Linked DNA regions of Homo sapiens: regions 1, 2, 3, 4, 5 and 7 are each linked to region 6. Evidence: promoter capture Hi-C in 16 types of primary human blood cells and fetal thymus (Javierre and others, 2016). All regions are on one chromosome and are shown on one strand. Each heading gives the region's core, a stretch centred on a gene start or on the middle of the fragment in contact. The rest is flanking DNA. Distances are from core to core; before and after follow the strand shown.

Evidence for each region. The method cuts DNA at HindIII sites, captures the fragments that hold promoters and counts their contacts. A CHiCAGO score of 5 or more calls a contact.
Region 1: a contact is called between a fragment that was not itself captured here and the fragment with the promoter of CDR2 in region 6, in 1 of 17 cell types (fetal thymus). The highest score is 6.7, in fetal thymus.
Region 2: a fragment that was not itself captured here is called in contact with the fragment with the promoter of CDR2 in region 6 in 5 of 17 cell types (erythroblasts, total B cells, fetal thymus and 2 more); the score reaches 17.2 in erythroblasts.
Region 3: a fragment that was not itself captured here is called in contact with the fragment with the promoter of CDR2 in region 6 in 3 of 17 cell types (fetal thymus, non-activated CD4 T cells and naive B cells); the score reaches 8.1 in fetal thymus.
Region 4: a fragment that was not itself captured here is called in contact with the fragment with the promoter of CDR2 in region 6 in 1 of 17 cell types (erythroblasts); the score reaches 5.6 in erythroblasts.
Region 5: a contact is called between a fragment that was not itself captured here and the fragment with the promoter of CDR2 in region 6, in 1 of 17 cell types (fetal thymus). The highest score is 9.6, in fetal thymus.
Region 7: the fragment with the promoter of ACSM3 here is called in contact with the fragment with the promoter of CDR2 in region 6 in 1 of 17 cell types (total B cells); the score reaches 8.2 in total B cells.

Annotation. Positions count from the first base shown.
Region 1 is chr16:20,741,193-20,744,895 of GRCh38, reverse strand. It overlaps THUMPD1 (THUMP domain 1 NAT10 acetyltransferase adaptor), which reads left to right and starts at 3,078. Exons shown (of 4, transcript NM_017736.5): 1 at 3,078-3,387. The coding sequence starts at 3,157. It also overlaps a transcript of ACSM3 not described here. RefSeq lists enhancers at 3,003-3,272, 3,283-3,332, 3,633-3,703. The HindIII fragment of the contact is 1,340 bases long and covers 873-2,212 here.
Region 2 is chr16:21,161,213-21,164,526 of GRCh38, reverse strand. LDAF1 (lipid droplet assembly factor 1) reads right to left here. Exons shown (of 5, transcript NM_001301771.2): 2 at 3,249-3,314. Among named protein-coding and RNA genes, the nearest start is that of LDAF1, 4.2 kb to the right of the region's middle. The HindIII fragment of the contact is 4,069 bases long and covers 1-3,314 here.
Region 3 is chr16:20,893,128-20,896,855 of GRCh38, reverse strand. All of the region lies in intron 1 of DCUN1D3 (defective in cullin neddylation 1 domain containing 3), which reads left to right. Among named protein-coding and RNA genes, the nearest start is that of DCUN1D3, 5.4 kb to the left of the region's middle. The HindIII fragment of the contact is 204 bases long and covers 2,079-2,282 here.
Region 4 is chr16:20,917,172-20,920,719 of GRCh38, reverse strand. LYRM1 (LYR motif containing 1) reads right to left here. Exons shown (of 4, transcript NM_001128302.3): 3 at 506-598. Among named protein-coding and RNA genes, the nearest start is that of LYRM1, 18 kb to the right of the region's middle. The HindIII fragment of the contact is 1,378 bases long and covers 750-2,127 here.
Region 5 is chr16:20,871,700-20,875,084 of GRCh38, reverse strand. All of the region lies in intron 1 of DCUN1D3 (defective in cullin neddylation 1 domain containing 3), which reads left to right. Among named protein-coding and RNA genes, the nearest start is that of DCUN1D3, 27 kb to the left of the region's middle. RefSeq lists enhancers at 153-372, 623-722. The HindIII fragment of the contact is 2,955 bases long and covers 130-3,084 here.
Region 6 is chr16:22,372,707-22,376,092 of GRCh38, reverse strand. It overlaps CDR2 (cerebellar degeneration related protein 2), which reads left to right and starts at 1,474. Exons shown (of 5, transcript NM_001802.2): 1 at 1,474-1,862. The coding sequence starts at 1,784. It overlaps CDR2-DT (CDR2 divergent transcript), which reads right to left and starts at 1,206. Exons shown (of 3, transcript NR_148970.1): 1 at 870-1,206; 2 at 533-766. RefSeq lists enhancers at 702-751, 1,092-1,171 and a silencer at 1,712-1,941. The HindIII fragment of the contact is 4,746 bases long and covers 623-3,386 here.
Region 7 is chr16:20,762,063-20,765,477 of GRCh38, reverse strand. ACSM3 (acyl-CoA synthetase medium chain family member 3) reads right to left here and starts at 1,464. Exons shown (of 14, transcript NM_005622.4): 1 at 1,353-1,464. RefSeq lists an enhancer at 1,198-1,327. The HindIII fragment of the contact is 1,761 bases long and covers 1-1,623 here.

The sequences.
Region 1 (3,703 bases), core at 293-2,792, 1.6 Mb after region 6:
TAACAGAATTAAATTGCACAAGGAAGGATTCTCAAATCAGGCAGGCCCCTGACCCACTAACCGGAATAGGTTTAGAGACATCCTGGTGCTGCCACATGGTCAGAGATGATTTATGGACATAAAAAGAAAAGTGAGGTGCAGGAAATGGAAGTAAGGTACAGAAACAGCCCAATAGGTTACAACTCAGTATTTGCCTTATTTAAACGTGGTTTGGCTGGGCGCAGTGGCTCATGCCTGTAATCCCAGCACTTTGGGAGGCGAAGTGGGCAGATCTCTTGAGGTCAGGAGTTCAAGATCAGCCTGGCCAACATGGTGAAACCCCATATCTACTAAAAATACAAAAATTAGTTGGCCGTGGTGGCATGCACAGGTAATCCCAGCTACTTGGGAGGCTGAGGCAGGAGAATCGCTTGAACCCAGTAAGTGGACGTTGCAGTGAGCCGAGACTGCACCAGTGCACTCCATCCTGTGCGACAGCAAGACTCCGTCTCAAAAAACATAAAAATAAAAAACATGGTTTGAACAATCAGCCACCTGTGAGTGGTTGAGCATGGCTTCTGTGCTTGGCTGAGATTTGGCTACTTGTTACAACAGCCATTACAGTCTGTTTACACATCCAATTAGGTTATAGTTCACTATGTATGGAGAAACCTGTAGGCCAGGGATGTCCAATCTTTTGGCTTCCTTGGAAGAAGAATCCTCTTGGGCCACCCATAAAATATACTAATGCTAACAATAGCAGATGAATTTTTTTTAATTGCAGAAAAACCTCAGAGTGTTTTAAGAAAGTTTATTAATTTGTGTTGGGCCGGTTGAATTTCAAAGCTGTCCTGGGCCACATGTTGACTGTGGGCCAACAGGTTGGACAAGCTTGATTTAGGCCAAACTTAAATTTAGCCTAAAGCTGCCTCCTCACATATTTTAACAAAACTGAGTTTTTGTTTTTCAAGTTTGCCTCCATATAGTACTCAAATATGCTTGGGACTTGAAATATATATATTTTAACTTGTTATCTGTATGCTAATATTTGATATCCTAAGGACAGGTGGCAGAGTGTGGGCAACTGAAACCCAGCCAGCAGAAGAGAGAGAGATTTGGGGGAAGGCCAATGCCAGTGTCATGACACTGCTCTTCACAAACAACTGAGGACTTCTAGAAATCTCTGCTGTGCAGTGTCCACCAAAGAAATTCTGAAAATTAAATGCTGTATTGAATACACAGGTAAAAGCAAACAATAAGATGATAAAATTTTTGGACATAGTGGTAGATCTGGGGTTAGAACCTAGGGTTTATTGACTGTGAATTCGGTGTCCCTTTCAAAATATCAGATTACATCTTTTAGGGCTTTGTAGGAACTCAAATCTGCTAAGAGGTTTGTACCTGAAGAGTAGTATGAGAAGCACTTGTTTTTTAAACACATTCTTCAAAAGTGGCATCTTCAATGATTTTTAAAAAGACAGTAACATGATAAGTTGCCAAGACTATGGATAAAAGGCCGCAACGAAAGCAGCATGAAACAACACCAGCCAACATCCTTGGTTTTAAGTGAAATAGAAACATAGCCTGGAAAATTGAGGCTGAAATGGAATTTACTGGAAGCCTTTTGAGTAACTGTTCTATGTGGGAAATGCGCGAGGGGAAAAAACAAGACAAAATACGGCCAGGCGCGGTGGCTCACGCCTGTAATCTCAGCACTTTGGGAGGCCGAGGCGGGTGGATCACGAGGTCAGGAGATTGAGACCATCCTGACTGACACGGTAAAACCCCGTCTCTACTAAAAATAAAAAATATTAGCCGGGCGTGGTGGCGGGCGCCTGTAGTCCCAGCTACTCGGGAGGGAGGCAGGAGAATGGGGTGAACCTGGGAGGCGGAGCTTGCAGTGAGCCCAGATCGCACCACTGCACTCCAGCCTGGGCGACAGAGCGAGACTCCATCTCAAAAAAAAAAAAAAAAAATAGACAAACATACAATACCTTTGGGGGTAAACAACCTTTATCCCACGTAAATGGCAATGCAGATATAATAAGCAAATGATATAGTAAGCAAATTGCAATGGGAAGGGGAGAAGGGAAAAAAAAAAAATATATATATATATATATATATTTACACGCACCAGACTATGTTGGATTCATCACCAGACCGGGAAGCAACAGCCTGGGCTCCAGAGTCAGCCACTTGTCCGTGCACAGAGGAGGAGGGGTCTCAAGAAGCTTCCGTGTGGCCTGGGACCCTGGCTCATTTTTTTTTTTTTTTTGAGACAGAGCCTCGCTTTGTTGCCAGGCTGGAGTGCAATGGCACGATCTCGGCTTACTGCAACCGCCGCTTCCCGAGTTCGAGTGATTCCCCTGCCTCAGCCTCCCGAGTAGTTGGGACTACAGGTGCGCGCCACCACGCCTGGCTAATTTTTTGCATTTTAGTAGAGATGTTGGTCAGGATGGTCTCCATCTCCTGACCTCGTGATCTGCCTGCCTTGGCCTCCCAAAGTGCTGGGATTACAGGCGTGAGCCACCGTGCCCGGCCGACCCTGGCTCTTTTTGTAATGCGTTGATTGGCATGAGGCCCAGTCACGAGGGCCCTTCTCGACTGGGCTCAAGGAACACATAAAGGTCAACTTGTTTCTGTGATTGTCTGTTTTTCAATAACTCAAGTACAGGTACAGAGTTATCTGTAACAGTGCTGGATGAATGAATGCCTCAAGGGGCTCATGCAACCTGTTACGGGACTTGACCATTGTGTCCACGTTCAATTGAGTTCAAATTTAATATTTAACTTTTCCTCCACAGTAGCTGGCAGAATTATAGGGAAGGCTGGAGGAACAGGTACCAAGGTTGGGTGGAAGAAGCTATATGGCTGGAGCCAGCTTCAAGGGCTTGAGGAGCCACCGACACCACTTCCAGAATGGCTGCTATGCTGCCTCTACTGGATTCAGGTTGCAGTCGGGAGGCGGGGCAGGAGGCGGGGCTTGGGCGGGTATCACTCCACCCCTTTCACGATTGCAGACCGGCCTTAGGACCTGGCGCAGCACGGAATGAGGCTTCGAGGCCGGCTAGGGGAGGCCGTCGCTCATATCCGACGTCACCAGTTCGCGCCGGCGATAGACGAGGACGCCAACAGCAGCGGAGAAACGTTTCTCTTTCCTCTCAGTTTGCGCACACCATGGCGGCCCCTGCCCAGCAGACTACTCAGCCTGGCGGCGGGAAGCGCAAAGGCAAGGCTCAGTATGTGCTGGCCAAGCGCGCTCGGCGCTGCGACGCTGGCGGGCCCCGTCAGCTAGAGCCCGGGCTACAGGGCATCCTCATCACCTGCAATATGAACGAGCGCAAGTGCGTGGAGGAGGCCTACAGCCTCCTCAACGAATACGGCGACGACATGTATGGGCCAGAAAAGGTACCGGTCCCGGGGTGGGCGGGCGGGCCGGCTGCCAGGCCTTGCGGGAGGAGGGAAGGGTGGAGGGATGGCTGCTGGTATGGGCATGCGCGCCTCGGGTCGTCGGCGTGACGGCTGTAGGGGCGTGGCCTCGCCGGCGTTTCCGTCCCTAGTCCTGAGACGCTCGCAGACTTCGGTGCTATCGGTTTTGTGCTTGAAGTGCTTGCACCTTTTCTTGCCATCAGTAACCACGGTAGCTCCCATTACTTTTATTTTTATTTTTGTGAGACAGGGTCTCGCTCTGTTGCCGAGGCTGGAGTGCAGTGGCGTGATGATA
Region 2 (3,314 bases), core at 686-3,185, 1.2 Mb after region 6:
GTAATCCCAGCACTTCAGGAGGCCAAGGCAGGAGGACTGCTTGAGGCCAAGAGTTTGAGACCAGCCTGGGCAACACAGTGAAAGATGCTGTCTCTCCAAAAAATAAAATAAAACATTAGCTGAGTATGCTGGTGTGCACCTGTAGTCCCAGCTACTCAGGAGGCTGAGGCTGGAGGTGTTGCTTGAGACCAGAAGTTCGAGGCTACAGTAAGCCATGATCACACCACTATACTCCAGCCTGGAAGACAGAGTGAGACTCTGTCTCAATAAAAAATAAATAAAAAATTTTAAAAAAGGAGATGGAAATTCAGTGAGCCTAAGTGACTTGCCCAAGGTCAGACAAAGGCGGTTGGCTTCTAAACTAGGGACAAAGTGGCCAGTATTTGAGAACATGAAGACTGAAACTTGGATGATTCAGGAGCCAGGCAAATTCCCTGGTATCAGAATGCAAAAAACAATCAATGATTCATTATCTCTTCCTAACAGGAGAAAGACGAAGGGTCAGGACCATTTACAACCACTGGTGGCCAGGTGCGGTGGCTCACGCCTATAATCCCAGCACTTTGGGAGGCCGAAGTGGGTGGATTGCCTGAGGTCAGGAGTTGGAGATCAGCGTGGCCAAAATGGTGAGAAACCCCGTCTCTACTAAAAATACAAAAACAAACAAACAAAAAAGGCAGGTGAACGTGACTATTAACTAAGTTCAGACAGGGCCAGGGTGAATGCCTAGTGCAGTGCTTGGCATACAGTCAGTGCCAAGAAATATGCAGTCAATCCTTATTACTCATGATTCCATATTTGTAAATTTGCCTCCTCACTGAAATTTATTTGTAACCTCAAAATGAATACTGGCAGTGCTTTTTGTTTTGTTTTGTTTTGTCTGAGATAGAGTCTTGCTCTGTCACCCAGGCTGGAGTACAGTGGTGTGATCTTGGCTCCCTTCAACCTTCACCTCCTGGGTTCAAGCGATTCTCGTGCCTCAGCCTCCCAAGAGGCTAGGATTACAGGCGCACACCACCACACCCAGCTAATTTTTGTATTTTTCGTAGAGAAGGGGTTTCATCATGTTGGCCAGGCTGGTCTTGAACTTCTGGCTCAAGGGATCCACCCGCCTCGGCCTCCCAAAGTACTAGGATTACAGGTGTGAGCTACCACGCCTGGCCTGCAGTGCTTTTGAGGTCATTAGTGGACACGTCCACAACAGCAAAAAGTGGAGTCACCTGCCACGTACATTCCCAGCTGAGGTCAAGCAAGGTGACACCGAGCCTTCCTGTTTCATCCTTTAAACAAGTGTCACTGTGGTCTATTTAGTGCCACGTTTATGCTTTAGTTTGGTGATTTTACTGTTGAAAATGGTCCCCAAGTGTAGTGCTGAAGTGTTCTCTAGCGTTCCTAACCATGAGAAGGCTGTGATGTGCCTTATGCAGAAAATACATGTGTGTGATTAGCTTTGTTTAAGACATGAGTCATAGTACTGTTGTTGGCCCTGAGTTCAACGTTAATGATCAACAATATATATTAACATGTCTTTAAACAGAAATACACATAAAACGAGGTTATGTACTGATCAGCTGACAAAAATGTTGTGAACAGGAGGCTCACAGCAACTGAATCCTGTATTTCCCCTAGGAGCGATGGTTTGGTATGTGCTAATTCAGTGTCTGCAGTAACTTTATAGAACGTAACTACCATGGTTAATGAGAATCAGCTGTAAATGTGGAACAGGCAGGAGGACCCTTCTTACTGAGCTAACTTTTAATAACAAGAGTCCCCGCCAGCTGGCGAGAAAGCTGCTTGTCCAATTTAAAAATAGCTTGGTAAATCCACAAAGAGTGCCAAATAAATTCTGGAGCAAGTCCAGAATTTATTGTTGTAGATTGCAAACAAGCATCTCTTCGAGTAGACCCGCTGTGCTATCCAATACAAAAAAAAATACACCACAAAATAGTTCATTTTGTTACATATACATATGTATTTTTATAGGTATATTGCATAGAAAAAAGGTCTAGAATGACATACAAAATGTTAACAGTATTATCTCTGAAAGCTGTTTTCTTTTCCCTGACAAAATGCTGAAAGACATATAGAAGAAAGCAATAAGGATAAATATGCAAGAAAACATAACGCTATCTGAAGTCTCATTGCCACTGAGTGGCCACTGAATACCTAAAAAGTGGCTAACTCGAATTGAAATGTGCTAGAAGTGTAAAATATGCGCACGGGGGGTTTTGAAGAGGGAGTTCAAAAAAGAAGGTACAATGTTTCAAGAATCTTTTTTCATTAATAATTTTGTATAAATGATTACATGTTGAAATATTTTTGATATCTTAGGTTGAATAAAAACATTATTAAAAATAATTTTTTTTTTTTGGAGACGGAATCTCGCTCTGTCGCCCAGGCTGGAGTGCGGTGGCACAATCTCAGCTCACTGCAACCTCCGCCTCCTGGGTTCAAGTGATTCTCCTGCCTCAGCCTCCCGAGTAGCTGGGACTACAGGCCTTACCACCACACCTGCTCATTTTGGTAATTTTAGTAGAGATGGGGTTTTACCATGTTCGCCAGGCTGATCTCGAACTTCTGATCTCAAGTGATCCACCCACCTCAGCCTCCCAAAGTGCTAGGATCACAGGCGGGAGCCACTATGCCCAGCCAAAATTAATTTTACCTATTTCTTTTTACTTCTTACATGTGGCTACTAGAAAAATTCTAAATTACATACGTGACTCACATCATATTTCTATCGGACCTGGATTCCTAGTGGAACAATGAACTCAAATCTTGAAGTAGGCTTTTGTCTCTCATTTTCAGGGTAACAGATAGGGCAAAATTCACAACAAAACCAAACAAAACCAAAAAAAGGATGATATCTGTTGCACAGACTTCTTTATCCAGCTAAAGAATTGCATTTGCCATTAGTGGCAAATGACTCAATGTTGGCTTAAGGGATGTAATTGGAAGTATTGTGTGCGACTCCCAGAAGTCTCCTTAAATTGTAGGTGGCTTGCACTTCTCTCTTCCCCCCTCCTCAAATCCTGTTGCCTGAAAGATGGATACAATGGCTGATGCTCTTGCAGTCATCTCAGACAAGGAGTTTGAAGGTCACAGCATAGACATGGCAGGGCGGTAAGCCAGAAAGATTCTTGACTTACCTCCAAATTCCTTCTACTGGAGAAAGAAATAACTTTCTATCTTGTTTATGCTAGTGTTATATTGGGATTTTCCATTATACATAGTGATTGGAAACTGACCTTTGAGTTATTCTGGAAGGAGTCTATCAGCAGAGACAGCTTCTTCTGCAGTTCCTGCAAGTCCCT
Region 3 (3,728 bases), core at 931-3,430, 1.5 Mb after region 6:
ATGACTAAAGTAAACATCTAGGAACAGGCAACTTCTACTCTTCATACTAGAGTATCTCAAAGGAATAGAGAATTGGTAGTGAGATTTGTTAATTTAATTATTTGGCTTTGGCCCAGGTTAAAGGTTTTGGACTTAACTTATATGCTGATGCTTGGCATAAAATGCTCTATCTGATGGGTTATTAAGCTCTCCACTTCATTTTCATTTCAATGGTTTATTGTAACTCAAATATGAAAATATCCTGTAGGCTGAAGTTTCATCAGCCAGTTTGGAGACTGGTGGCTCTTTTCTAATTTTTGAAAGGGGGCGGGTGGGTAGGAGGGGACTTGAACACAAGGAGAAGCCATTGTCTCCTACATTGGCTACTAATTGTGTTTGGGGAAAGAATCCACAAATTTAAGTGGATTGGATTTTCGGAGCTGAGCTGGCCTTTTAATTTAGGGTACCAGTGGATTTATTTCTTACACTTTGCAGGCTTTTGGACAAACTCTTCTGAAAGGTGGGCAACCTAGAAAGCCAGTTGATGCCACTTGCTATTGGAGTTGTGGGTAAGTGGTTTTACATTGCATTACACGACTAAAAGGTAATCAGATTTTGCTACTGTTTTGGTGTACAGATGCTCTTTGATTTACAGTGGGGTTACCTTTTATAACCCCATCATAAGTTGAAAATATTGTTAGTAAAAAAATGCATTTAATATACCTCACCTACCGAACATCATAGCTTAGCCTAGCCTACCTTAAACATGCCAAGAACCTGCATGTTTGGCATGTTTGGCAAATGCATCTAATGAGCCTATTTTATAATAAAATATTGAATATCTCATGTAATTTATTGAGTGAATACTGGAAGTGAAAAACAGAATGGTTGTGTAAGTACTTGAAGTAGTCTGGGACTGTCTATGTGCTGAAGTAAGGACATTTAATTGTGCAGTAGTTGCCAGTTGTTTTGAGGTGAAGAAGTGGTAACTTAGATTGAAACAATGGTAATGACGTGGTAACTCCTGTTTTCCCGGGTCTTGATAACTTAAAATTATCTCTTTGTGTCTGTTTAGACTGTTCTGGAGCTCTTTGCACAATGGACCAGGGTTAATTGAGTTAGTGTCTTTCAGTTCAAATCTAGTTTCACTAGTTCTTACGTCTGTGTTCCTAGATGATGGTGAATCCTATTCTTTTGGGTGGTGAGAAGGGATTACCACAGAACTTGACCGTTTAATCAGTGAATAATTACAAACTAGAGCGTAACATATTTACATCCCCTTGGTATCCTGGGGGATTGGTTTTGGACCCCTTAGTTACCAAATTCACAAATGATCAAGACTTACATAAAGTGGTAGTATATGGGAAGGTGCAGGGAGTGGCGGTGATGCACATCTGTAGTCCCAGCTACTCAGGAGGCATTTCCAGATTACTTATAATGCCTAATACAGTTTGGGTGTGGTGGCTCATTCCTGTAATCCCAGCACGTTAGGAGGCTACTACAAATACCTGCCCCCTTTTTGTTTTATTATGTGGGAGGATTGCTTGGAGGCCAGGAGTTCAAGTCCAGCCTACGCAAGATAGTCAGGCCCTGTCTCTAAAAAAATTTAAAAAACTTAGCCAGGCATGGTGGTGCATGCCTGTAGTCCCAGCTACTGGGGTGGCTAAGGCAGGAGAATTGCTTGAACCCAGGAAGTTGAGGCTGTAGTAGCCGTGATGGAGCTGCTGCACTCCAGCCTAGGTGACAGAGCAAGACCCCATCTCAAAAACAACAGCCAAATACAATGTAAGTGGTATGTAAATAGTTGCTATGCTGTATTTTAAAAAATTCATATTATTTTTTATTGTTGTATTGTTATTAGGTTTTTTTTTTCCAAATATTTTTGACCCATGGTTGGTCGAATCTGCCAATGTAGAACCTATTGATACAGATGGCCAATTGCACTGAAAATGAAAGAAAAGATTGGAAGTGGCTCAAACTCTTATTCTTTGAAGTTGTGACATGTTGAAAGAAGAGAATGGCAGATAGGGAAATCATTTTCTTTAAGATGTGTGCAAATGAGACCTTCTTTAAATACCATACATCAGAACAGGGAAGCTTAGTAAATCAGTCTTGAGGTGGTGATTAGCTCTTGTGGCAAAATAAGTCACCTGTGCCCAGAGCCTGGATACCAGCCTGGTTGCATGCAAAGGCAGACATGTCAATGACTTCGTCTACCTTCCTGAGGGCTTGACCTTGTTCAAGAGTGTCCTTTGAGCTGTACTATATTGTTAGGCTTGGGATTGAATTGCCACACAGAAGCTTGGATTGCATAGTGTTGGGAAGCATCATCCCTGATCCTTTTGTGCCCTGCTCTGCTGGAGGGCTCAACCGCAGGACCTGGTGACTAGAAATAATTCTGTCACTTGGGCCTGCAGATTCATACCAGGTCTGATGACTGACTAAGAATCTCAGATAGCAGCAGTGTATAGTGTGGGACTCTTCATTTTTGAGACTGCTTAGCATCTCGGAGCCACTGCCCCTCTTTCTGCCTGTTGGGCCAAGAGAAAGTGTTGAAAAAACCTGCCCCTTTTTGATTTATTATGTATTCATTTATTTTTTGAGACAGAGTCTCAGGCTGGACTCAGTGGCCCAGGCTGGAATGCAGTGGCATGATCAAGGCTCACGGCAGCCTCGACCTCCCAGGCTCAAGCGATCCTCCTGTCTCAGCCCTCCTGAGTAGCTGGGACTACAGGCCTGCACCACCATGCACCACTAATTTATTGTATTTTTAATAGAGATGGGGTTTCGCTGTGTTGCCCAGGCTGGTCTCAGACTTCTCACCTCAAGTGATCTGCCTGCCTCGGCCTCCCAAAGTGCTGGGGTTACAGGCGTGAGCCACCACACCTGGCCTGCTCCTTTATTTTAGTAGCAGATTGTTTCCACACAAGCGGCAGAGTTGGGTTACAGCTTTTAGCTCTCTATCATTCATGATGGGTTTGAACTCTATGCAGTGTTTGCTTAAAGTGGATTAGTATGTGTCCTTTAATTTTGATTCTGAACGAGTCTCAAGTCATAGCATTACTACTTTGAATGCTGTTAATTCCCCTTCCTGAAGTTTAGGAGAAGCAGGAAAAAGTCAGACCCTTGCAGAATCTTAGCATATCTGGTGTTTATTTCAAGCTGGGCTTTGAGGAGCCCTCTCCGCCATTGTTGAAGTATGCTTGTGGCAGGGATGAGGGGGTTTTGCTGTTTTCCTTCTGTTTCACGTTACTACTTCAGTCTGTGAAAAGTTACTGTAATATTCTGTTATATTGGGCTACCCTATTAGATTCTAGTTGAATAAAATGTTCTGAGGCTGAAAACAGGTTGAAAAGTGGTTATTTTCAGTGGGAAAACAGAAATCAAGAAAAATAAGTAGGCCAGGCATGGTAATGCACTGCATGCGTGTAATCCCAGTACTTTGGGAGGCTTAGACGGGAGAATCTCTTGAGCCCAGGAGTTTGAGACCAGTCTGGGCAACACAGTGAGACCTCATTTTACAAGAAATAAGGGAAAGGAGCTGGGCGTGGTGGTGTGCACCTGTAGTGTCACCTGCTTGGGAGGCTGAGGCAGCAGGATCACTTGAGCCCAGAAGGTCAGGCTGCAGTGAGCTGAGATCGCACCACTGCACTGTAGCCTTGGTGACAGAGTGAGACCCTGTCTCATTTAAAAAAAAAAAAAAAGATGAGTAAATGCTTAAAGTTACAGAGCAAGCTCTAGGCAGCAGC
Region 4 (3,548 bases), core at 189-2,688, 1.5 Mb after region 6:
AATGGGGTCTCACTGTGTTGCCCAGGCTGGTCTCAAACTCCTAACCTCAAGTGATCCTCCTGCCTTGGCCTCCCAAAGTGCTAGGATTATAGGCATGAGCCGCAGTGCCTAGCCTGGATGAGAATTTTTGACCATTTTTACTTTCTACTTTATGCATTCCTTTCATGTTTGAACTTTATTCTTTTAGTAACAACAAACCTGCCTTTTATAATTAAACACATTTCCATAAAAAAGATGAAAGTGAAAAGAGAAAAAGCTCTACAGTGTGAGCTGGTTTTCCCTTCCATACGTGGAAAGCTATGTAAGCAGGATACGTCATGCATTCATTGACATTTTACTTTGTTGTGATGGGCTGGCAGCATGCAATGATAGCTTATTTCCAACATGCCTCCCACAGCAGCTCTGGGCTTCTCAGCAAGCACTCGCCCTCTTGTTACACATTCTTGGAAATAACCAGGTTGATGAGGGTAAGTACCCAGCACTTGTTAACCGGAGTCACACTTACTGGCCTTGGGTAAGGAATCTTGTAATGCAGTCCAATTTCAATCCTGGCTGTGCATTCATCTATACACTGTTTAATTAGGTCTGTGTCCGTGAGCTATTAAAAGGGAGAAAGAAATGAGGCTGATAGTATCTTTCTAATGGTACATAGAGTATAGGTATACATTTTCTCAAACTTTTTTAGTTCACTAGCCAGTAAATGAAATGTTACTAATTTGGAAAATCAAAAGCAATTTAATATTAAAGCTTACCATAAACTTTTAAAATCGTTAAAGTAGGTAAAAATAATTCAAATAATACAAAAGGATGTAACATAAGAACTACGTTTCCCTCTTACTCCTCTATTCCAGTTCCTCATCTCGGAGACAACAATTAGCAGTTTCTTGTGTGTTCTTGCAGGGGTATTCTATGTATATGTGAAAATGCACATGTATGTAGAAGCTGATTATTTTTCTCACACAAACAATAGCTCCCTTTGTTCTGAACCTTGCTTTTTCATGAACATAACTTGAGGTTCCTTCTATATTCTATCTATAGAGCTGCTCCCTTCTTTTTAACAGCTATATAAAATTCCAACAGAAGGCTTTATTATAATTTCACCAATCTCCTACCCATGGATAATTAAGTTATTTCCAATTTTTTGCTATTATAAATGATTCCGCTATGGATCTCTCTAAAATTACTTTGCTTACATGCATATGTATCTAAAAGATGAATTCCTAGAGAGAGAGGACTGCTAGGACAAAGGCATAGATTCATGCATTTTTAATTCTCACAGATATTCCCAGATTACTCTCTAGAGTTCACACCAATTTACATTCCTACCAACAATCTATAAATTATATTCTCACCGACACTGACTGAGAGTGCTTCTTCACACCCCCCTCATGTTGATTAAACTTTAAAGTAACCCCATGGTTTCTGCAAGTGCTGTCCTGAAACCCCCAGAGTAGGACACTGGAGAATGATCTACACCTCTTAAACTGTCAACTGCCTTGGCTCATTAGTAAGGGGAACAAAGGGCTTTTGAAATTCCAAAATAGTCAAATCATGGTAATCCACTCTCAATTAAAGGAATAAAAAGTTCATTCTGAAAAACAGCCAAGTAGGAAAAAGGGAGAAACTCTTTCATTATGAGGTAGGAAAATGAATCAAGACGTGGCTCTGCTAGGAGTTTGCAAGTGGACTTCAAAGCTGAGCTAGGATTGCATCAGCACCAGATGACACCCACGCAGCAAAGTCTGGGTCCATGTGGCTTGGAAATTTCAAGGGCGTTCCTGTCCTATGGTACCTCTTGGAGCAGAGAAGAGTTCCAGGAACAGCAATGCAGAGAACCACAGCTGTGAGTCCCTTGTGGCAGAGGCCCAACTTTCTGACCTCTGTGCTTCTCAGAAGCCACTGATTTGCTGTCTGTGTTGGAAAAGAGTTCCATGTTCCCATTTGCCCACTGAGATTCAGAGCAGTTCATGGGATACCTTTGGATTATTAAACTCTTAAGAGTAATCAAAGTTACAAGAAACTCATTATGTCTGCATGAGGGACTAGGAAGAAAGAAAAAGCCCTTGACAAAGATATGGTTAAGGGGGTTGGGGCTTCTGGGGCTTCAGCTGTCTATCTGAACAAGCTTGGGCTACAGTACTCCAAATTCAGTCATTCACGGGCTGGCTGCATGATTCTGCCATATCCACATACTACTTATACTAATGTTAAAATTTTTCATTAAATGGACTCTCTTAAGCAATAGCATTTGTGAAACTGTGGTCTAATATTCTCTGTCCTTTATAACACATGCTAAAGCAAGTACGTATCTTAAAATTAAGAACCCATGTACCTCTTCCGCCCACTCCCAAATAATCTCATGTACCATCAGTGGCACATACACCTCCCTCTGGCTCACTCCTCGAGCCAATCCAAGCCGAGGCAAAGGAAGGGTTATTGCGATAACTGAAAACCGAAACTCTTGAGTAGTCTTCAGGTGAGTGAGCTTGCAAAGGTTTATTGGGCATGTACTATGATATCCCCAATACCGCAGGCTGGACAGTGCCTTCAACTATCAAAGTTATTACTTGGGCAGAACAACTCTGATACCTGAAGCTACAGAAAAGGCACAGTGGTATATAATCAATGGATGCAGTGACTGCTACAGACAGCTATAGGAATTCAGAACAGGCGGCCAGCATGGGGTTGAGGGGGAAGCAGAGAAACTGAGGAAGATTTCCTGGAGGAGGTCAGTTAAATCAAAGTATTTATAGCTGCTCATTCATTTAGTGACAACCACAAGGAGGTCCCTTGGGATATACTAGATAAGTATAAGAACGTGTCTATATGTTCAAGGAACTGATGATCTGGTTGGGAAAACCATGCCAACATAAATAAAATAAAGAAGAAAAAAGGAGAATATAAACAACTATTTAGGGATCTCCAAGCCTTTTGATCATCTACTCTTTTTTTGGTTTTTTTGGTGACAGAGTCTTCCTCTGTTGCCCAGGCTGGGGTGCAGTGGCATGATCTTGGCTCACTGTAACCTCTGCCTCCTGGGTTCAAGAAATTCTCGTGCCTCAGCCTCCTGAGTAGCTGGAACTACAGGTGTGCACCACCACACCCAGCTAATTTTTGTATTTTTAGTAGACAGGGTTTCACCATGTTGGCCAGGCTCATCTTAAACTTCTGACCTCAAGTGATCCACCAGCCTCAGCCTCCCAAAGTGTAAGGATTATAGGCGTGAGCCACCACACCTGGCCAATCACCTACTCTTTTCATTGAAATATTTCTGAGCCCACAGCCCCATATATGTATTTATATTAATTTATAAATGTATTAATTTATAAATTATATATATGTACTAACAAGTTCATTGTAACTGTGTACCAGACAGACTTTTTAGAAAGATGAAAGGATAAATAGAAATAGCAGTTGTATTTTATTTCCATTCCTTAGAGGATTGTTTAAGGACCTCATGGGGTACATATACTCTGGTTTGGCAAGCATGGTCTATGCTAAGAGCAGAAAAAGTTTGGGGAACCTGGGTTTGGAGGAAGGTCAGCAGG
Region 5 (3,385 bases), core at 358-2,857, 1.5 Mb after region 6:
GGCATAGCTGCTAGGGCAGGGTTTTAATAGACAGCATTGTGGTGGCCATTAGGTGGCAGCAATTTTGGCAGGTCATGTGGGTGGGAAGTGGGCAGGAACGAATCATCAGATGTCTTACTTTGCAAAGCTTGCAGTACCACAGTGCCTTCCAACAGGTATAGAGCTCCATTTTTAATTACCTGCTTATCTTTGCACATGTTAATGTACTCTGGGGCCTCATGCTACATGAGCATTTGTGAAAATAAGTAACTTAAAAAAAAAAATCAAAGCCTAAACCTTGGGGCCTCAAGTTTCAACCTGCAGAGAACGTATTCAAATAAAGATGTGCAAACATGAGCATTTCCTGTCAGTCTTTGAAACTTAAACACTTTCTTAATAGGCTCTTCGGCATGTAAAATCAAAGAGAAATTGTCTCAGTGATAGGAATTGAAACCAAGAGGGTAGCCAAGTTCAGGTTAGATTTGGGCTTTCAGTTTCATGGGATATGGTTTAGATCAAATACCTGTTTCAGCTGGAAGGTTGATCATGTTATTGTACAGAGAAAGACTTCTGAGAGATTTTTGCTTTCAGCCTTTCACATGGTGTCTGAATGCTGGGACGGGGTTCCTCTTTGGGAACAAGATGATGACAGCAAATATGTACACAATAGAATAAAGCTCCTGAAGTATTCTGTGGCATATCTACTTGAAGGAGGTCTAACGGTGTAAAAATTGCAATTGGAAAGATTCTTGTAGCCAGTTAGTCATACCATCTTTTAAATAGCATCCTACTGGTCCACGTAGTTATAATGGAATTTGACAGCTTTCATGAACTTGGGATCATTGGTCCTGTTGTTCAGCTAAGGGTCCTATGATATATTCGACTAGAAATTGTGGCCTAGTCAGTTGGTTCTGAACCATGAATCAGAACATCTGGCAATTAGATCTTCTCTCTCTTTGCTCTCTGAATAGAAGAGATCTGAGTGACATAGCTGTGTCTTGGTAGGGACTCTTTCAGTTGTGATAGAAAACCTGATATCTAACTTATGCAAAGGAGAGTTTGTTGGCTCACACCTGTGAAGTTCAGGCTTTGATCTTGACTCTAGGAACAGTTGGATTCAGGGTGTAAATAATGCCTTCAAAATTCAGTTTCCCTTTGTCTCTTCATACTGCTTTCCACTTGGTGATTTCATTTTTGGGTTCTACATGCATTTGAGCTGAGCCCCATGTGATAAACAGGGACCATTTAATCCTCACAGTGACCCCCTAGGCATTCTTATTTTCTCTGGTAGCTCTTTCTGGTAGCATCTCCAGCCTCCTGTATTTTCAGGGTTGAGATTCTGTCTGGCTGGCTTGTCATGGGCATATCCTGGGTCCAGTCATTAAAGCCAGGGGCATGTGAGGCCTTGGTGGGGCTGAGTCCCATAGTTCTTTATGAACCCCACCCAGCCATATGGCCGAGAGCGAGGGAAAAGGATCTGCTGGTGAAAATTGGGTAATCACCTGATGAAGAGCCTGGATGCTGGGAAGGCAGACACGTCTGCTACAAATCTGTCCTTTGACCCAGTCTGCAGCTTGACAGCCCATGTTAGTCTTCACACTAAATCCAGCCCATTGACCATTTCCAGGCATTCCACATTTCTCTTTTGAATGAGCCTCTTGCTCCCTGGGAATGTGAATCACTCAATCCATGGGCCAGACCCTTCTACCCCTGATGTTAAACCTTTGATAAGGGGACTGTTACTCATTAGACCTTAAGATGGTCATCATCTTTGTCCTCTTCTTTTCCTTGGAGGGAGTGTGAGGAGGAAGTTGATCTTCTTTTGAAAGAATAAATTGAGGAAATTTAGATATAAGTGAAAGATGTCTTTAGGATTAAGCTGCTTTTCTCCCCATTCCCCCATCATTTAAAAACACTTCCTTAAAATCCCTGGAGCCAGAATCACTGGATCATTGGATTGGTTAGTTGTTTTTTTTTTTTTTTTTGAGACAGAGTCTCGCTCTGTAGCCCAGGCTGGAGTGCAGTGGCACAGTCTTCCTCACTGCTACCTCTGCCTCCCAGGTCCCACTTCAAGCAGTTCTCCTGCCTCAGGTTCCCAAGTAGCTGGGATTACAGGCATGTGCCACCATGCCCAGCTAATTTTTGTATTTTTAGTAGAGACGGGGTTTCACCATGTTGGCCAGGCTGGTCTTGAACTCCTGACCTCGTGATCCACCTGCCTTGGCCTCCCAAAGTGCTGGGATTGCAGGCGTGAGCCACTGCGCCTAGCCTGGTTAGCCTTTTTGATGTGATTCGCAGTGAAGCAAGACTGAAAGGATATACTCCAAAATATTAACCGTAGGTGGTGAAATTAGTGATTGGCTTTTTTTTTCTTTATGCCTCTCTGTACTTTCTAAACTTCACAAAATAATTATGTAATACTTTTGAATTTGCCAGCAGGAAAGAGAGTCTAGTGACCTCACTTTTCTGACCAGGTTACTGATGTGGTTGAAAGCAGGAATTCTTTTATTGTGTGGATCTTTTCTGTCCCTCTTCCTCTTCCTGTCTGCTATGCATTAGCAGTCAACCTCCATCGTGGGGAAAAAGCTGATAAATGTGGTCTTAATGGATTTAGATTTTTTTTTTTTTTTTTAAGAATTAGCAAACATTAAGAGGTTGATTGGTTACCACGTGGTGAACCTGAGGCCTACTTAGAGGCCTTTGGCTCCCGAAACCACATATCTACATTTGTGGTCATCCAGGTGCCCTTTAAGACATTTGGATGCAGTCATTTATCATCTGTATGTTGTGTTCCTTCGTCGTCTTTGGACTCATTTCATAATTTCCTTTCTTGCCTTTTACTTAGATGCAAAAATCTAACCTTATCTCCAGTTCACTAATTTTCAGTGAGTTGCTGACTCCCAAGTTCTCAGAAGGTGATTGAAAAATGAGCAGTTGATGTGGTAATTGGGTGTTTTGAGGACTAATCAGCTACAATCAGGTAAACCTCCAGGGTGGCTGATAACCATATGCTGACTGGAAGGAGGGTATTAGTGCTAATCAGTGGTTTACTTTCAGTGGGCTCTACTGAGGCTCCATCCTAAGGAATAAAACAAGCTGCAAGCTTATAACGGAGATGAAGAGTGCAGCAGGCATGCCGTTTTTATTAGAGTTAAGGTTCAGTACAAATCCAGGATGGCTTTCTGGTTTTAAACAGGGAAAGTCACTGGAAAAGCTGGTGTGAAAACAAAGAATGACCTAGAAATTTGGTGCCCATTTATGATGCTCCCCCTTGCACATAAGTGGGTAGTTAGAAATGCCCAGATCAATAGTGACAGCAAAAAATATTTCAAGTATGGGTCAGTGAAATGATATAGCCCTTTTTTGGTTATTTTGAGTTATGTGGGATTAAACATGTAGCTCAGTT
Region 6 (3,386 bases), core at 225-2,724:
CAATCTCGGCTCACTGCAACTTCCACCTCCCGGGTTTCAAGCAATTCTCCTGCCTCAGCCTTCCAAGTAGTTGGGATTACAGGCATGCGCCACCACGCCCAGCTAATTTTGTATTTTTAGTAGAGATGGGGTTTCTCCATGTTGGTCAGGCTGGCCTCGAACTCTCGACCTCAGGTGATCCGCCCGCCTCGGCCTCCCAAAATGCTGGGATTACAGGCGTGAGCCACCGTGTCCAGCCTCGGAAAACTCTTAATTGCTTCCCATTTTTAGTTCTGGCAGCTCTCTCCATATTTGTGGAAACTATTCATTGGATTATCAATGTAAGGTATTATCTGTCGACTCACTTCTAAAATAGATCAGGATTTAACACTCCTCTCCACCTCTTCCCTCTCTCTGAATTTCTAACAGTTTATTACCTCATGTTCTAGAGATAATCTTTCAATTGTATACTTAAACCTCGATTTTTTTTTGTTTCGTTGCTCAAAGTTAGTTAGATATTGGCCCTGTTGTCTTCCATCAGCTGCACCTTTACCTTTACGTCAAGGTTGAGAACATTGACCTTCAGGTCTGTCATCCTGCTTAAGAGTTTCCGTGCTTTGTCTGCAAGATGGTGCTTAAAGCTTTACCTAGGAGCAGTATTTGCTGGGTTATGTCGGTGGAGGACAGCGTGCTCTGCCTCGCTGGCTACTAAGTGCTGGAGCTGCAGCCTGTCCCCTCCAGGTGCAATGTCACGTCCCCAGATGCTTAACTTGTGGTCTAGGGGTACCTTTTAAAAATCGTTGCAACACTGCTTACAATTTTCGCCCTCCAAGTGGACAGCTTCGGGCATCCCTCACCGCCCCAGATTCTCAAGGGGGTCTGGTGCCCACCGTTTTATGTAGCGTGAGTTTAATTCCCAGGGCTCAGATGTCAAGGAGACAAGAGCTACCGCTCAGTGGGCGTTTTCTCAACCCAAACTCCCGATCGACCTCGAGTCTCCCCGCCGGACCCGGAGCAAATCTCAGAGTCAAGATGCGAGAAGGGGTGGCCGGGCGGCGGACCTCAGGCTTCCGGCACCCTTGCGCTTCCCGCCGGCACGAAGGACTCCCCTGGACAACCGCCCGCCTCTCAGAGGCCGGAGTCCTAGGCCCTCCGGCCTGCGTTGCCTGTCCACAGACGCGCCGGCCTCGGGACACCCACCACAGGGGTAAGACGCGCCTCTGCCAGCTCCCCAGCCCGAAACCCAGAACGCCCTCCTAGGAGCCTCACAGCGCAGATCAGGGGACGGGCTTTCGGCCGCACCCCTTCACTCTTTCCCCGCCTTCTTTGTTTATTCCGGACCCACCATTGGCTGCTTGCCCTCGATACCGGGCGAGCCGCCGGTCTTTGGAGAGAGGCGATTGGACGAAGTCCCTGCCGCTCGGCCAGCAGCCCGCTCGCGATTGGTTGAGGCGCCGCCGGGGGTTTGAATCGCATCCCCGGCCGGGGAGGGTTCTGCCAAAGTGCCACGTTGGGCCCGGCGGCGGCGTGAAGACTGGCGGCTGCGTGAGACTCCGGCTCCAGGCGTTCGCACCGTAATGCCCGGCCGTTGGGGCCGTCGGTAGGCGCGAGGCGAGTCGAGGCAGCCGGCCGGTCGGCGGCCGCCGGCGGGAACGGGGCTGAGGCGGCGCAGCGGAGTCTGGGCGGCGGCGCGTCCCGCCCGAGGGCGGCTCTGGCTGAGGGCGGAGGGGCCGGGGAAGAGCCCGGGGCAGCGGCTGAGGCGGGACGGCGGCGGGGGCCGCTGCCCCTAGAAGACCCAGCCGAGATGCTGGCGGAAAACCTGGTAGAGGAGTTTGAGATGAAGGAGGACGAGCCGTGGTACGACCACCAGGACCTCCAGCAAGGTGAGGGCGGGGGCGCCCCGCGGGCGGGCGGCGGCCTGGCCCGGGAGGCCCCCGCTGCGAAACTGTTAAAAAGTTGCTTTTTGTGGCGGCGGAGGATGCAGGTGCCGGGAAGGGCTCAGGCTCACCTGGCGGCTGGGCCGGCCGTGCCCGCGGATCCCGCCCGCAGGAAGCCTCGGCACGGGGCCCACGGCCTTGCTAATGCGCAGTTGAATATCAGCCCCGAGGCGCGTGGGGGCCAGGGACGAGCCAGGCACCGTTTTAAGCGCTTTCCGTGGATTAGCTAGTTTAATCCTCACTGCATTCCTCCGAGGCAGACCCGGGTGAGCCAGTGTGTCCCGCAGTAAGTGGCATAGCCCGAGAAGCCGCCCCGTCGCAGGCTGTCTAGCCCAGCGCCTTTCATGGCCAGCGTGGAGGGCCGGCTGCTGCAGGTGGTAGTTGTTTTGCGGCGTAGCGGGAGCTGTGCGCTCCGCACCGTAACTCCAGGAGACAGTAACTTTTTAAAAATTAATGTTTGAGGGTACATGGTAGGTGTATATATTTGTGGGGTACATGAGATGTTTGGATACAGGCACGCAGTGTGAAATAAGCACGTGATGGAGAACGGGGCGTCCATCCCAGCATTTATCCATTGAGGTACAAACAATCCAATTACACACTTTTGTTATCCCATTTTCCATATGAGGAAAGCGGAGATTAAAACGGTAAAGTGGCTTGCCTAAAGCTAAGTGTGGGAGGGAGTGTTTTTTGAACCCACACACTCAGAAGAAGAGTTGTAGTCACTGCTCAAACCCCATCTCTTCCTTACCATCCTAGTTTACAGTTTTTTTCAGTTGGGCGTTAAGCTGTTAGGCATAGTTCACCAGATGCCAATTGAAACGACAGAAGAAAGAGCGCATCTATCTCTGCCACTTTTCTTCAGTTTGCACGCCAGCTTTCACTTAGAAACAGGCCTGCCGATGGTGTCTCCAGAGAACAATCGTAGAGTAGCCCACTCTTTGGGGCCAGTGGGGCCCCTGTTTTTCTTATACTAATAGCAGGAGCTAGCAGTTGGGGAACACTTTTTATGTGCCTAACACTGATAGGCCCATAACACAGTTGCTCATTTAATTCTCCCAGTAACACAATAGAGGTAGTAATGTTGGGGAGTGCTAGGGTTCTCCTTAAGACTCCAGAGCAAACGTTCTTAACCGCTATACTGAGTACTGAACAATCCTCAGGAATTTTTCCAGGCATCTTCAGTTTCTGCAATTCTGTGTAAATGCTCTCAGCTCTAATCTTGCAATGAAAATTAACATCTCATTTAGTTGAATATTAAATGATCATGTTGCTTGTTCATGCTAACCACTGAACATGGCAGAAGAAAAGAATGTAGACCTGAATAACTCAGAAAAGGAAAATAAAATGAGCACCTCTTTTGGAGGAAGATAATTTCTTAAATTAACATGCAATCACTTTAACCAAAGTAATTCACCTTTATTACACTTACAGAGTCCAAGCTACTTAGTGGTTGCAGTGCAGTGTTTG
Region 7 (3,415 bases), core at 215-2,714, 1.6 Mb after region 6:
TACACCACATTCAGAATCCTTCAAACGTATGTTGAAAAGAAAATTGATCAGTCATTTGGAGCTTAAAATGAACCTAACCATTCTGTTCTACCAAAAAGCAAATATCGACATCCTCTTCATCAAAACCATAAGATTACCTTCTCCTCAACAAAGTTCTTTTCCTCCCTTTTCATCGATCTTAGCATTTTACAACTTCTATTTCCCAGGTTTATAAAATTATTTGTAGGTAAAATTGCTGAGATAACTTTCCCAGGGTGACTCCAGATTTTTATACTGAGCCACAGAAACATTGGTAAGGAAAACTCTTCTAAGAAAGACAGTACCACCCCTGGTCAGATAGGCTTCTGAAAGTATTTAAGGTCTCATCTGAAATGCAAGCTCTTTGTCCCTACAGCCAAGGGGGCTTTAGCCTCCCCACAGCTCCCTAAACATCCCTCCCTCTAAGTATCCAAGTAATAACAGTAGTTTAACATATACAGCCTCAACGCAAGGTAAATTCACTGCTGTTGTCTCCAAACCCAACCAGACCCTGCCTGAAGCCCCTCCTATACAGAACTTTTGCAGCTGCCCTTGACCACCTAAAGGAGAAAACTGGCTGCTCTTAGGTTTGCATCTGTGTTTCCCAAAGTTTCCTGGAAGTAATTTACATACTTTCTGGATGATGCAGAAGATGGATTCCCATCTGTCACTGAGCAAGGTGGGGAGCTAAGCAGACAGTACAATGAAAATCTCAGCCACTACCTGGTCTTTTTTTTGAGATGGAGTCTTGTTCTGTCACCCAGGCTGGAGTGCAGTGATGCAATCTCAGCTTACTGCAAACTCCACCTCCCAGGTTCAAGTGACTCTACTGCCTCAGGCTCCCAAGTAGCTGGGGTTACAGGCACCTGCCACCACACCTGGCTAATTTTTTATTTTCAGTAGAGATAGGGTTTCACCATGTTGGCCAAGCTGGTCTCGAACTCCTGGCCTCAAGTGATCTGCATCTGCCCACCATAGCCTCCTAAAGTGGTGGGATTACAGGCTTGAGCCACCGCATCTGGTTCAATTAAAATTAAAAAAAAAATTTATCAACTTAATACATGTACATAGTTTTTCAAAAAATCAAATAGCACCAAAAGGCTCAACATGAAAACTCAGCTGCTACATTTATAGCCTTTTGTGTGTGCATACTCCTCATCACTTAATAGATAGTATCACACAACTGAGAAATTCTGAGAGAAACTTTGGCTGCCCAAGACTTTAATGACAGCATTTTTGATTGTTGGTTTTGTTCATCTGTTTGTTATCTTTGCTCAAAAAACAGATGTGCCAGTTCAGGAAATCTTACACAGGAGGGGAGATGAGGTACTCACTAGTTAACAGATTCCAACACAGATGGAGATTATGGCAGACTTGTTTCTTAGAAGAGCAGCCCTGAACCTTGAGTTCTCACATCTGCTTTTTCCTCGTGGCAGTCTAAAGAAGAGGGAGGAGCAGTCTGACAATCCGGAGGAGCAAGACTGGCCCAAAACACTTTCCTTGATTGGTGGAGACATTCTGGAGGAGGAGCCAAGCTCTGGGCTAAAGTTTACAGGACTCCCAGCGGTTCCTCTTACAGGTAATGATTTACAGAAACAGCAAGCTTTTGAGGGGCGGAGAAAGCAAATTATTAACAAGAAGGAAAGTGTCCAAGGAGTTGCCGAAGTGGTTAGTTCTGTAAAGGGGCAGAGAGAGCACTTCTCAGAAGGAAGAACAGATGGAGGAAGCCATAGAGGAGTTTTGAAATTGAAAGGAAAGAAGTTGAGGGGCGGTTATGGGTTGGCCTAAATCTCATCAAGCCCATTGGTGCGTTTATCTGTCGAAGTGGCAGGACTAAACATAAACGCTATCAGGTTACTCCCCTGCTCAAATCTTTCAGTGCTTCTTTTTCCACTCCAGGTAAAATCCGAGTCCTTACATGAACTGCAAGGAGTTGTATGATCTGGCACAGGGTCCTCTGATCCACAGCCCATTCTCCTTCCTCTGCCTCACTCTGCACAGCCACCGGCCTCCTTGCTTTTTCTCAAACACACTTGCCTGTTTCAGCCTCAGGCTTTCTGAATTCACAGTTTCCACTGACTGGAACTCTTTCCTCAGATATCCCCCTGGCCAAATTCCTCATTTTCTGAGGTGTCTTATTAAATAACTCTTCCCTTACCTCATTTTCTAAAGTAGCACTCTTCATTTTTTCTCTTTTACCATTTTTTAACTTTTTACATCTCTTACTATCACCCTTGAGGGTAAGAACTCTTTTTGTTTGATGGTGTATCTATTGCCTGGAATAGCTACTGGCAAATTTTAGGCATTCAATAAATAGTTGATGGATATGTGAATAAATAAAGGACTCTTTCAATTACATGTGAGAGACCCAACTTTACTTAAAGAGGAATTTGTTGGTCACTTTTGAGTTCTAGGAGTCTTTTGTTGTTGATTCCTTGGGATTTTCTGTGTAATCACATTACCTGTAAATAAGTAAACAGATCTTACTTCTTTCTTTCAGATCTATATGCGTTTTATTTCCTTTTCTTGCCTTATTGCGCAGGCTAGAGTGTCTAGCTCTACGTTGAATAAGAGTGATGAGAGCAGACATCCTTGCCTTGCTTTTGATCTTAGAGGGAAAACATTCAGTCTTTCATGGTTAGGTACAATATTAGTAGTAGGTTTTGTGTAGATGCCCTTTATCAAGTTGAGGAAATTCTCCTCTATTTCTATTTTTTTCTGAGTGTTTTTATCATGAATAGGTGTTGAATTTTGGCAAGTGTTTTTTCTGCATCAGTTACTATAAGCATGTGGTGTTTTTCTTCTTTAGCCTGTTAATAAGATAGATTACACTGATCTTCTAATATTGAACCAGCCTTGCCTCCCTGGAATAAACCTTGCTTGGTCCTGTTGTATATTTCTTTTTCTGTATTGCTGAATTCTATAGTTATGTCTCTTGACAAATTTGAGAACTTTTCAGCTATTATTTCTTGGAGTAAATTTTTAGCCCCCATGTTAGATCTTTTATGATAGTTTCACAGGTCCCTGAGGCTCTGTTCTTTTTTTTCTTTTTTTTCCCATTCTAGTTTCTTTCTTTTGTTCAGGTTGAGTAAATTCTGGCTTCCAGTTCTTTGATTTTTTTCTTCTATTATTTCTATTCTGATGTTAAGCTCATTATTAGAGACAGGGAAAAAACAGTGTTTTTTTTTCTACTCTCACATACCATTCAGCATAATGTTAGCAGTGGTGAATCCATACGGATCTACAATAACTTGATTCTTGCCTCTTCAAAGGAAAGAATTCATCCAAGAGGCATAAGGCAGAGTGAGAGACTGAGGCAAGTTTTTGAGCAGGAGTGAGAGTTTATTAGAAAGTTTTAGAGCAGGAACCAAAGGAAGAGGGGCAAGCAGGCAACTTG